2 separate regions of the Homo sapiens genome follow, and region 2 is linked to region 1. Evidence: promoter capture Hi-C in human tissues and cell types (Jung and others, 2019). All regions are on one chromosome and are shown on one strand. Each heading gives the region's core, a stretch centred on a gene start or on the middle of the fragment in contact. The rest is flanking DNA. Distances are from core to core; before and after follow the strand shown.

The links. The method cuts DNA at HindIII sites, captures the fragments that hold promoters and counts their contacts. A contact is called where the count stands out against the background at its distance.
Region 2: a fragment that was not itself captured here is called in contact with the fragment with the promoter of ZNF879 in region 1 in 1 of the 25 tissues and cell types used here (spleen).

Annotation. Positions count from the first base shown.
Region 1 is chr5:179,021,410-179,026,598 of GRCh38, forward strand. ZNF879 (zinc finger protein 879) reads left to right here and starts at 2,395. Exons shown (of 5, transcript NM_001136116.3): 1 at 2,395-2,495; 2 at 3,561-3,628. The coding sequence starts at 3,596. RefSeq lists an enhancer at 2,023-2,524. The HindIII fragment of the contact is 17,237 bases long and covers 1-4,890 here.
Region 2 is chr5:178,781,207-178,786,279 of GRCh38, forward strand. It overlaps the pseudogene AACSP1. Among named protein-coding and RNA genes, the nearest start is that of ZNF354A, 53 kb to the left of the region's middle. The HindIII fragment of the contact is 4,602 bases long and covers 1-3,728 here.

The DNA.
Region 1 (5,189 bases), core at 1,145-3,644:
TGAGAAGCCTGATGTCAGCTGCACTTTCTTTGGTTCGTCTAGAGTAGTGGACTTTCTTGGTTACCTAATATCCTCTCGCCTTCCTAATTCTCAACAGAACCTAGATTTTGTTTACATATCCACATCACATCCAGCTCCTGAGGATCAGGGTGGAGAAAAGGAAGAAACGTGTTTGTTTGTTTTTTTCTGAGAGTGTCGCTCTGTCCCCCAGGCTGGAGTGCAGTGGCGCGATCTCAGCTCACTGCAACCTCCGCCTCCCGGGTTCAAGCAACTGCCCTGCCTCAGCCTCCCAAATAGCTGGGATTACAGGCTTGAGCCACCACCCCCGGCCAAAACCTGGTTTTTGCTGACATCATAGAACCACCGATTCTTCTCTAGCCGGAGTCTGCCCCAGTGATTTCTTGCTATTCCTTATTCATTTCAGCCAACTTGAGCAGTTCCATCTTCTGTGACTTGTAGCAAATAACACATGCCAACCTTTTATTCCGTCTTTTCTGGCCACTTTTAGGGGTTCCTATTTATCCTCAGAGTTGTGATATTTCATCGAGGATGTATTTTTTATGGGCCATCCCTACCCTAGCTCATTCATTATGCCAAACTCCCTACATTTTATTTACTCTGAAGACTCAGGGCTTCCTCAGCTTGAATGTGTTTTCTGCTATATCTCTATCACTATTTCTGTATGTAATCAATCTGTTATTATTCCCCCTCCCCATTTTCTCTGCTTTCTTCTGAATCTTTTTATTAGATTTTGGGTATCAGAGCACTTGTCTCCTGCATGTCTTCCAAATGTTTCCTCAATTTCTGGTGTTCTGATGGTATTTTTCTAGAGTTGCATTAGATTTGCTCCTTTGAAAATTATATGTGTTTGGGGTTACTTTGAAGAATATGAAGAGAAAAAGGGAGGTAATCATGGGTACTCAGTCTGGCACCTTTTACTTTGTAAATCTCAATGCTATGTTGTTTTGTCAATAATGGTCTATAACTGTCATATCTTTATTATTATTATTTTAAAATAATAATTAAATATAGAAATAACATATGGTCCAGAAATGGAATTGCCCATGTGTTAATTCTACATTTAATTTTTTTTTGAGGAACTGCCATACCGTTTTCCAGCGCAGCGCTACCATTTTACATTCCCACCATTAAGGCACAAGGATTGTTTTCTGGTTTTCTTTTTTTTCCAAATTTTATAATAGCCAACCTAATGAGTGTGAAATCGCAGTGGATGTTTGATCTGCTTTGATCTGCATTCCCCTAATGATTAGTGATGTGCATTATTATCTTTTAACAATATAAAACATCCATTTTGTTCGATTTAATTATTTTTACATTGCAATAATCTTTGTATTGTTGTAACATCGTGATCCAAGATTTCTTTTTCATATTATCTACCTGATATCTCTTAGTCCCTCTCTGCATTTTCTATCTTCAAGTACCCTTTGTGTTTAGGTTTGTCTCTGTAAACGCTAATGTTTGATATTTTAAAAATCAACACTTTCTGAGCACATAGTATTTGGCGTGTACAGTGCCGGTCACCGAGGATGCAGTTGTGATGATAGCGCTGGGAGTTGGGCTTTATTTTACGTTTTAAAGAAGTCACTTCAAAAGAAGTGAGTGCCATGAAGAGGGAAATACTAGGCTTATGCTTTTGTTTTACTCTGAGTGCCAGTAAATATGTAAAGATTACAAAAATTTATTTATTTATTTATTTATTTATTTGAGACAGAGTCTTGCTCTGTCACCCAGGCTGGAGTGCAATGGCGCGATCTGAGCTCACCGCAACCTTCGCCTCCCAGGTTCAAGCGATTCTCCTGCCTCAGCCTCCCGAATAGCTGGGATTACAGGCATGTGCCACCACGCCCGACTAATTTTTCGTGTTTTCGTAGAGACAGGGTTGCACCATGTTGGCCAAGATGGTCTCGGTCTCCTGACCTTGTGATCCGCCCACCTCGGCCTCCCAAAGTGCTGCGATTACAGGCATAAGCCACCGCGCCCGGCCGAGATTATAAAATTTAGACATAATTCATTTTTAATTAAAATCGCAGAATGGACTGTAATAGTTCTGTCACCACCTGCGAATAATCAGCAGCGGCTAGTCTTCCAGATTTAAAAATTCATACTCACTTTTCCGTCTTACTATTTTTGTCATTCTAATTACGAATACAATGGGTGGTTTAGCGGAGGGAGAGTAGTTGGAGCCCAAGCTGAGGGACTCGGCTTCAGCCTTCTCGAACTCCACAGCCCGACCGCGTTCTCCGCTCTCGGCGCTGTGGTTCTCTCTCGGACACCGTAAGTGGTGGTGCCGCAGCGACGTCTGGGAAATGAAGTCCGGAGGGACAAACGCTGCGGTTCAGCCAGGGAAACCCGTCGGCTCTCCGGCGCGCAGGCGCAGTTGCGCCCGGCAGCGACGGGAAACGTCTCTGAATTAGGTGTTCCGCTCGCCTCTTGTGCGGTGTGGAGCTGCGCGCCCCCCGCCGAGGCGGGCCCAGGTACAGGCTGCCGGTGAGGGCGGGCCCGGGGCGTGCGGCTGCCGCGGCGGGACCAGGACGAGGGCTGGCCTCTGCGCGTGTCTGCCGAGTCCCCGGCTCCGGGCGTCCGAGCCGGGGCGGCCTCGGCAGGTGAACCCGGCCCCGGAGGGGGCGTGGCCTGGGAAGGGCCTGGCGGAGGCCGGGAGGGCGCTTCGACGCCGCTGGACTCCTGGGCCGCAGCCTGGGCCGGACTCCGGGGGAAACGGCTCCAGAACAGAAACTGCAAAATGCCGCCTCGGTTCAGGGTCCGGAGCCCTCCGGGCGGTTTTTCGCTCTTAGTGTTTGTGGGTTTAAGCCTCCCCCTACTCCGTTTCCCGGAGTTTAAACTTTAGATTTACTCGTTTTTGGCAGTCTTGCACGTTTGGCAGTGTTTTCCTACAGCCAGTCCTAGAGTGATTTAACTATTTCTTTTTTTATTTACCGTAACCATGTCCACTTGCTACGTTTCTTCCCATTTCTCTAAATTTTAAATCAATTTCTAGCTAGTGATGCTGTTTTCTTGCGCCCTTGTTTTTTTGGGGCCAGGGAGAATGGGTAACGCTACCTTTAAGCAGCTTTGATAACTGTTTTTGATAAAGGAAGTAAATCTTACAAGAGGAAGAAAAGAGGACTAATTTTTGGTTGGCTGTTCCTAAAAAAGAGCATCAGTTCTTCAACTGCTGTTTTTCGTATTGAACAACATCCAAGTGCAGATGTGTGGAATATTGTGTCATTTCCTATTACTTTATCTGAATGAGCCTTGCCTGATTCTGCCCTTGACCCTGTTAAGGCACGGCAGATGGTCTTCATCCCTTCGCTCCTTTCGTCTTTATCGTAAAGCACTGGCAGAAAGGTAGCAGGCCCGGTGACTCTGAACCTGCTTCCCACACTGGTTTAAGTGGCCGGACTTAGGGCCCCTCTGGCCTGGGCAGTTCCAGGCTCCTTCTCTGCAGGTGCTCAGCTTATGGCTTCTAACCTGGTCTGGCCTAATGAGGGTGGGCATGCAGGCTGGATGAAAAGACCTCACAGCTTTTTTCTCCATTCCAGGTGCCTTCTCCAAGAGAGGCAGCAGGGAGGGAGAAATGGCAAGGAGGTTGCTGCCAGCCCATGTACAGGTGAGTGAAGGCTTCTTTTTGCTTGAACTGCCTTCAGGGTCTAGACGTGGTAAACTTCTTCATCTGTTGTTGAGCTTCTCTACCCAGTGAAGCTCAGGGAAGGACCAGAGGGCTTGGTAGCTGAGAAACTCTGGAAGGAAGGTGTTTCCCTTGCCTCAGAGCCTGTCTCATGCTTTTTTTTTTTTTTCTTTCCCTTTTTTGAGACAGGGTCTCACTCTGTTACCCAGGCTGGAGTGCAGTGGCACGGACATGGCTCACTGCAGCCTCAACCTCCCTGGTAGCTGGGACTACAGGCATGTGTGCCACCACACCCAGCTAATTTTTGTATTTTTAGTAGAGACCAGGCTTCAACAAGTTGGCAAGGCTGGTCTTGAACTCCTGACCTCAAGCAATCTGCCCGCCTCAGCCTCCTAAAGTGTTGGGACTATGGGCGTGAGCCACCGCGCCCGGCCCCCAGTCTCATGCTTTTTGACAAAGAATTTAATGGGGCTCCAATGCCAGGCCACTGCCACTACCAGAGCTTTGTGAAAGATCCAGGTGTTTTTGCCCTGTGGAGGACAAAGACACGGAGGAGTTAAATAATTCCTTCCTAACACGGGGAATTTGAAAAAGAGAGGCCCTGTATTCCCAGGACCTTGGGAGGCCAAGGTGGGCAGATCACTTGAGGTCAGAAGTTCAAGACCAGCCTGACCAACATGGTGAAACCCGGTCTCTACTAAAAATACAGAAGTTAGCTAGGGATGGTGGTGCATGCCTATAGTCCCAACTGCTCTGGAGGCTGAGGCAGGAGAATCACTTGAACCCGGGAGGCAGGGGTTGAAGCGAGCGGAGATCATGCCACTGCACTCCAGCCTGCGTGACACAGCGAGACTCCGTCTCAAAAAAAAAAAAAGCCAGGTGTGGTGGGTCTGGTGGTGCGCTCCTGTAATCCCAGTTAGTCCGGAGGCTGAGGCAGGAGAATCACTTGAACCCGGAAGGTGGAGGTTGCAGTGAGCTGAGATTGTGCCATTGCACTCCAGCCTGGTGACAGAGCAAGACTCCATCTCAAAAAAAAAAAAAAAAAAACAAAGAAAGAAAAATATGTCTGAAGGAGATAAGCTTTGTACGCCTTTGTGATTCTGTACAGGATGCTCAATTCAGCATTTCTAGAGTATGAACAAAGTGCAAACAACCTAAACATCCAGTGCTAGGGGAGTTACATAAACTAGATCATCTGTACACTGAACTACTGGGCAGCATGTAAACAGTGGTGACCAGGATGCTGTTATTTGTATAATGTGATTTTATTTTTATTTAAATATAGAACCATATTTGCATGAAAATCACCTGAAGAGACATAGCAAAAAGTTAACTTTTTCTGGTGGTAGAAAGTTAGATGAGCACTTCTTGTTGTTTTGCTTATTGATCTTTTAGAATTTTCTAGTAAGCTTTTTTAAGATGATTCGTTTTGTTTTGTTTTTTAAGAGACAGGATCTTACTCTGTTGCCCAGGCTGGAGTGCAGTAGTGTGATCACACGTCACTGCAGCCTCGACCTCCTGGGCTCAGGCAAGCCTTTTGTCT
Region 2 (5,073 bases), core at 178-2,677, 240 kb before region 1:
GCCTTTCCTGGTATGGGAGAATTAAAAATAAGCCCAACACACACCACAGCCACACACTGGCTCTCTCTTCTCTCTTAAGCTATTACTTATTACGCAATATTCCAGACATACACAAAGGTACAGAGATGGTCCACGCCCACACACCTCTCACGGGAGCCTAATAATGTGTTCCTCCCATGAAGTCCCCTCCCTGTGTGCTCCCCAAAATCGCTGTCTCGGACATAGTGATTTGTTATTCCCATGTGTGTTAACATTTTTGCTCCATCCATACGCATCCCTGAATACTATGTGTCATCACTTTGCATACCTTTGAACACACACACGCTGTCCTTCTATGTGTCCCGCGTCTTCCTGTGCTCACTCAACATGACATCTGGGTGGCTCGTTCGGGCTACTACCTGTCGCTCTGGTTCATTCCTATTTACCGCTTGGTCATTTGCCATGTGTGATCACAGAACTTCTGCCCAAGGATGGACATTTCTATTGTTCCCAATTTTGTTTTCATTACAAATCATGGGGCTACAAACATTCTTGCATGGATCACAAGTCTGTCTTCCGTAAGCGGAATTCCTAGATCACAGGGCACATATGCATCTTCAGCTTCACTGACTGCTCCCGCATTGCTCTGCAGAACAGGTGCACTGAGCCCTGCTCACCCTTCCTAGCACAGCTGGGTTTCTAGCTGCCAGGCACAGCACAGCAGGAGACTATCCCTTCCATGACCGGGCTCTCAGATGCTCAGAGCCGGCCGCTGCCTGTGTATCCAGCACCAGGGTTCAGATTCAGGGCAACGATCACCCACTTGCCCGACGTTCCTGAGCACACAGCTCTCTGTCCTCCAGCTCGACCCTGACCTCTCAGGAGCTGGGGACCAGGAGCCGGTGGGTGTTAAACCAAGCTGGGGGGGAAGGACATCACGCTGCAAGTGACAGGGGCCTCCCTCCAAGGGCTGTTTTGGAGAACTATCACCAAGCAAAGTTACACATCCGAGCGCTCCCAAGCTCCCAACTCACGCCTAATCACAGGAAGAAACAGTTGGCGGAGCCATCACCTTCCTCATTCCACGCATCCACGGCCATGCCCAGGTTCCAGGCCTGAATCTCCCCTTTATACACAGGAAGAGAAATATTCTGGCCCATGAAGCAGGAGGTGATGTCGGTGCCTCCCGCAAGCAATGACAAAAGGAGAGTCGAAATTCAGAAGCCCAAGACAAATTGCTTTTAAGTCAGTAAGCAACAAAAGAGAAAGTGCAAAGACGACAAACATCTACTCTCCCAGACAAACACTGCAACATCCCAGACAGGTGGGGCTTCTTTTCAGGCAGCAGTGGGAGAGGTGATATGGAAATTAGAATGAACCCCCCTCATCTGGTGATTGACGTTTTGGCCGAGCCTTGCTGTTGGAGGATGCACTAAGTAAATGACTTCTTGTGGTCACACTGAAATTCAAGATTCAGGATCGCAGAAAATGGAAGCTTTGCCTGTGGTAACCACCCAGCAGACGCTGCCTATGCGGACTCATCACGTGGGAAGGCTTGCACGCCATGGTTTACGTGGACTTAACGGTTGGAAAAACAGAAACGTGGCCGGGCACGGTTGCTCATGCCTGTAATCCTAGCACTTTGGGAGGCCGAGATGGGTGGATTACCTGACCTCAGGAGTTCAAGACCAGCTTGGGCAACATGGTGAAACCCCATCTCTAGTAAAAATACAAAAAATTAGCCAGGCATGGTGGTGTGTGCCTGTAATCCCAGCTACGCAGGAGGCTGAGGCATGAGAATCAGTTGAACCCAGGAGGCAAAGGTTGCAGTGAGCTGAGATTGTGCCACTGCACTCCAGCTTGGGTGACAGGGAGAGATTCTGTCTCAAAAGCAAAAAAACCAGAAACGTTCCCAGCTGCAAAGACCGTGGAGTGTGATGTCTCACACAAGAGACTATGCTACATGGAAAAACACTCCTGTTTCTGGAATGAGCTGGAAATGGAGTCAGCCTCCATGGGCCATCATGCAGGGGAGCAGCGTGAACCCTCCAACTTAGGCCCGCTGCTGACAACAGCCAACAGCCATCCCCTGACCCAAAAGCCTGTGTGGGAAGGGAAACAGCAGCAGGGTGAATCTGCAGGAGGGCAAAGACCCTCACACTATACACACACATGCACACACACACATGCATAAACACACCATACATACACCACACACCACACACACACACAGGTGTACACACACATGCATACACCACACATACAGCCACACACGAGCACAGCAAGGGCAGGACACGCTGAGGAACATACAGCACACACGCACACACACACCACACATACATGCACACACAACACACACACATGCACACACCACACATGCATGCATTCACACACACACGAGCAGAGCAAGGGCAGAACACGCTGAGGACGGGGTCACTCCACTCCCACAGGGAAGAAAGCCAAGAGTGTGAGGGGGGTGGCAAGGAGCCCCCTCCCTAGCCCCGTGCCTGGTGTCTGAACTTTTTCTTTGAAACAGGGTCTCACTCTGTTGCTCAAGCAGGAGCTCAGTGGTGTGATCTTAGCTCACTGCAGCCTTGACCTCTTGGGCTCAAGTGATCCTCCCACCTCAGCCTCCCAAGCAGTTGAGACTACAGGCACACACCATGCCCAGCTAATTTTTTTTTTTTGAGACAGAGTCTCACTCTGTCTCCCAGGCTGGAGTGCAGTGGCACAATCTCGGCTCACTGCAACCTCCACCTCCCCAGTTCAAGTGATTCCTGCCTCAGCCTCCCGAGTAGCTGGGATTACAGGCATATGTCACCATGCCTGGCTAATTTTTGGGGTTTTTTTGGTAGAAATGAGGTTTCACCATGTTGACCTAGCTGGTCTCGAACTCCTGACCTCAAGTGATCTGCCCGCTTCAGCCTCCCATAGTGCTGGGATTAAGGCGTGACCACACCGCCTAGCCACGGCTAATTTTTTTTTTTTAAATTTTTTGTAGAAACAGGGTCCCACTGTTGCTCAAGCTAGTCTTGAACTCCTGGGCTCAAGCAATCCTTCCGGCTCGGCATCCCGAAGTGCTGGGATTACAGTTGTGAGCTACTGTGCCCGGCCCAGGCTACTCTTTATACTCAACTCACATACGTGAAAAAAAAATTTCATAAAGCAAATGTTTTCCCTAATCAGGCTCCGCGTGTATGAACTGGGAGTGTGGGGGTGTTCAAGATCCACATGAAATGACTCGATGGCTCCAAAAACCAGAAGGGTTGATTTTGGCTTCAACTCTAAGATGATTTTATTTCTTCCTTCAGGCAAAGAATAAAAGGTGATGTCTTCTCTGCCATTTCATGTCACTGACTGACGTGTCCCATGAAAATGAGTGAGTCACATTCATTTCTGCCACCATTAAGGTCTGAGCAGGGCTCCTGACCTCCTTCCTGCTGGTAAGAATGGCTCAGACCCCCCACCTCAGGCTGAGGAACCAACAGTGGGGAGGAAAGCTGGAGGGTTGGCCTCAGGCTTTGGGCAAACATATCCCTTAAAGAGGTGCTCTGAGAGTATGTTTTCAAATCACAAGGAGAAAAATCACAACTACAGATGTGTAAAAAGAAAATAAAAGTGAGCTAGGCCAGGCACGGTGGTTCACGCCTGTAATCCCAGCACTTTGGGAGGCCGAGGCGGGAGAATCACTTGCGCTCAGGAGTTCAAGAACACCCTAGGCAACATGGTGAAACCCCGTTTTCACAAAAAATAAAAAAACATAGCTGAGTGTGGTGGCATGCACCTGTGGTCCTAGCTACACAGGAGGCTGAAGTGGGAGGATCACTTGAGCCCAGGAGGCTGAGGCTGCAGTGAGCCATGATCGTGTCACTGTGCACTTCAGCAGGGGCAACAGAGCAAATCCCTGTCTAAAAAACAAACAAAAAACAAACAGTGACCCAAAGATTTCTATGGGCAGCAATGGAATCAACTCTAAGTCCCATTAAGGAGAAGTGAGGTATGTACCCTAAACTACAGAAAATGGGGGTGCTCTCACCCCATTTACACACACTCACAAACACACACTCAGGCACACACACTCACCTATGCACAGAACATCTCTGAAGGGAACGACGTCGGCTTCCTTGGGGAAGGGGGGCGGCAGCAATGAGGACACCTTTGTGGACTCTGAATTTTTTTCCACATTCATGAACCATTTTCCAAGGCACAACTTTATGTTAAGAAAAAAGTTATGACAAAAAAATGCACTTGGGGACAGGCACAGTGGCTCACGCCTGTAATCCCAGCACTTTGGGAGGCCAAGGTGGGTGGATCGCCTGAGGTCAGGAGTTTGAGACCAGCCTGGCCAATATGTGAAACCCTATCTCTACTAACAATACAGAAAAATTAGTTGGGCGTGGTGGCACATGCCCGTAATCCCAGCTACTTGGGAGGCTGAGGCAAGAGAACTGCTTGAACCCAGGAGGCAGAGGTTGCGGTGAGCTGAGATTGCACCCACTGCACTCCAGCCTGGGCTGGAGTGAGACTCCCTCTCAAAAAATCAAACAAACAAAAAAAATCAGTTGGAATCCACATATAATACACCCATGTATATACATATATGAGTATGCATGTAAACATCCATATATTCCCGTTTTCAACCTACAAACATGACCGCACCTTATAATGCTGCAATCTGATTATTTCACTCATGATGACCATGTTTCAACGTCCATCAGTATATTTCTATCTAAACAAATACTTTCATCCTTGCACTTCTAATGGTTGCATAAATTAAGAATGTACCCTAAATTATTCAATGAATTTCCTTCTGCTGGGCATACAGGTAGTGTCTATTTTTCCTCATATAAACAATGTTGCAATATTTGTCCTTCCATACAGTGGCTTCCATTTGCAGATTTTAGTTTTGTGAATTTGCCTACTCACTAAAATGCATGTGTAACCTCCAGAACTATACTCTGGAGCTTTTGCGGTCACTCTCAGACACTGCAGAGCAGTCAAAACCCTGAGTCACCCATGTCGGTTCCCACTGAGGTCACACAAGGAGACGTGGCCTCCCTAGCTCCCTCTCACACACAGGAGACCGGGGCAGGG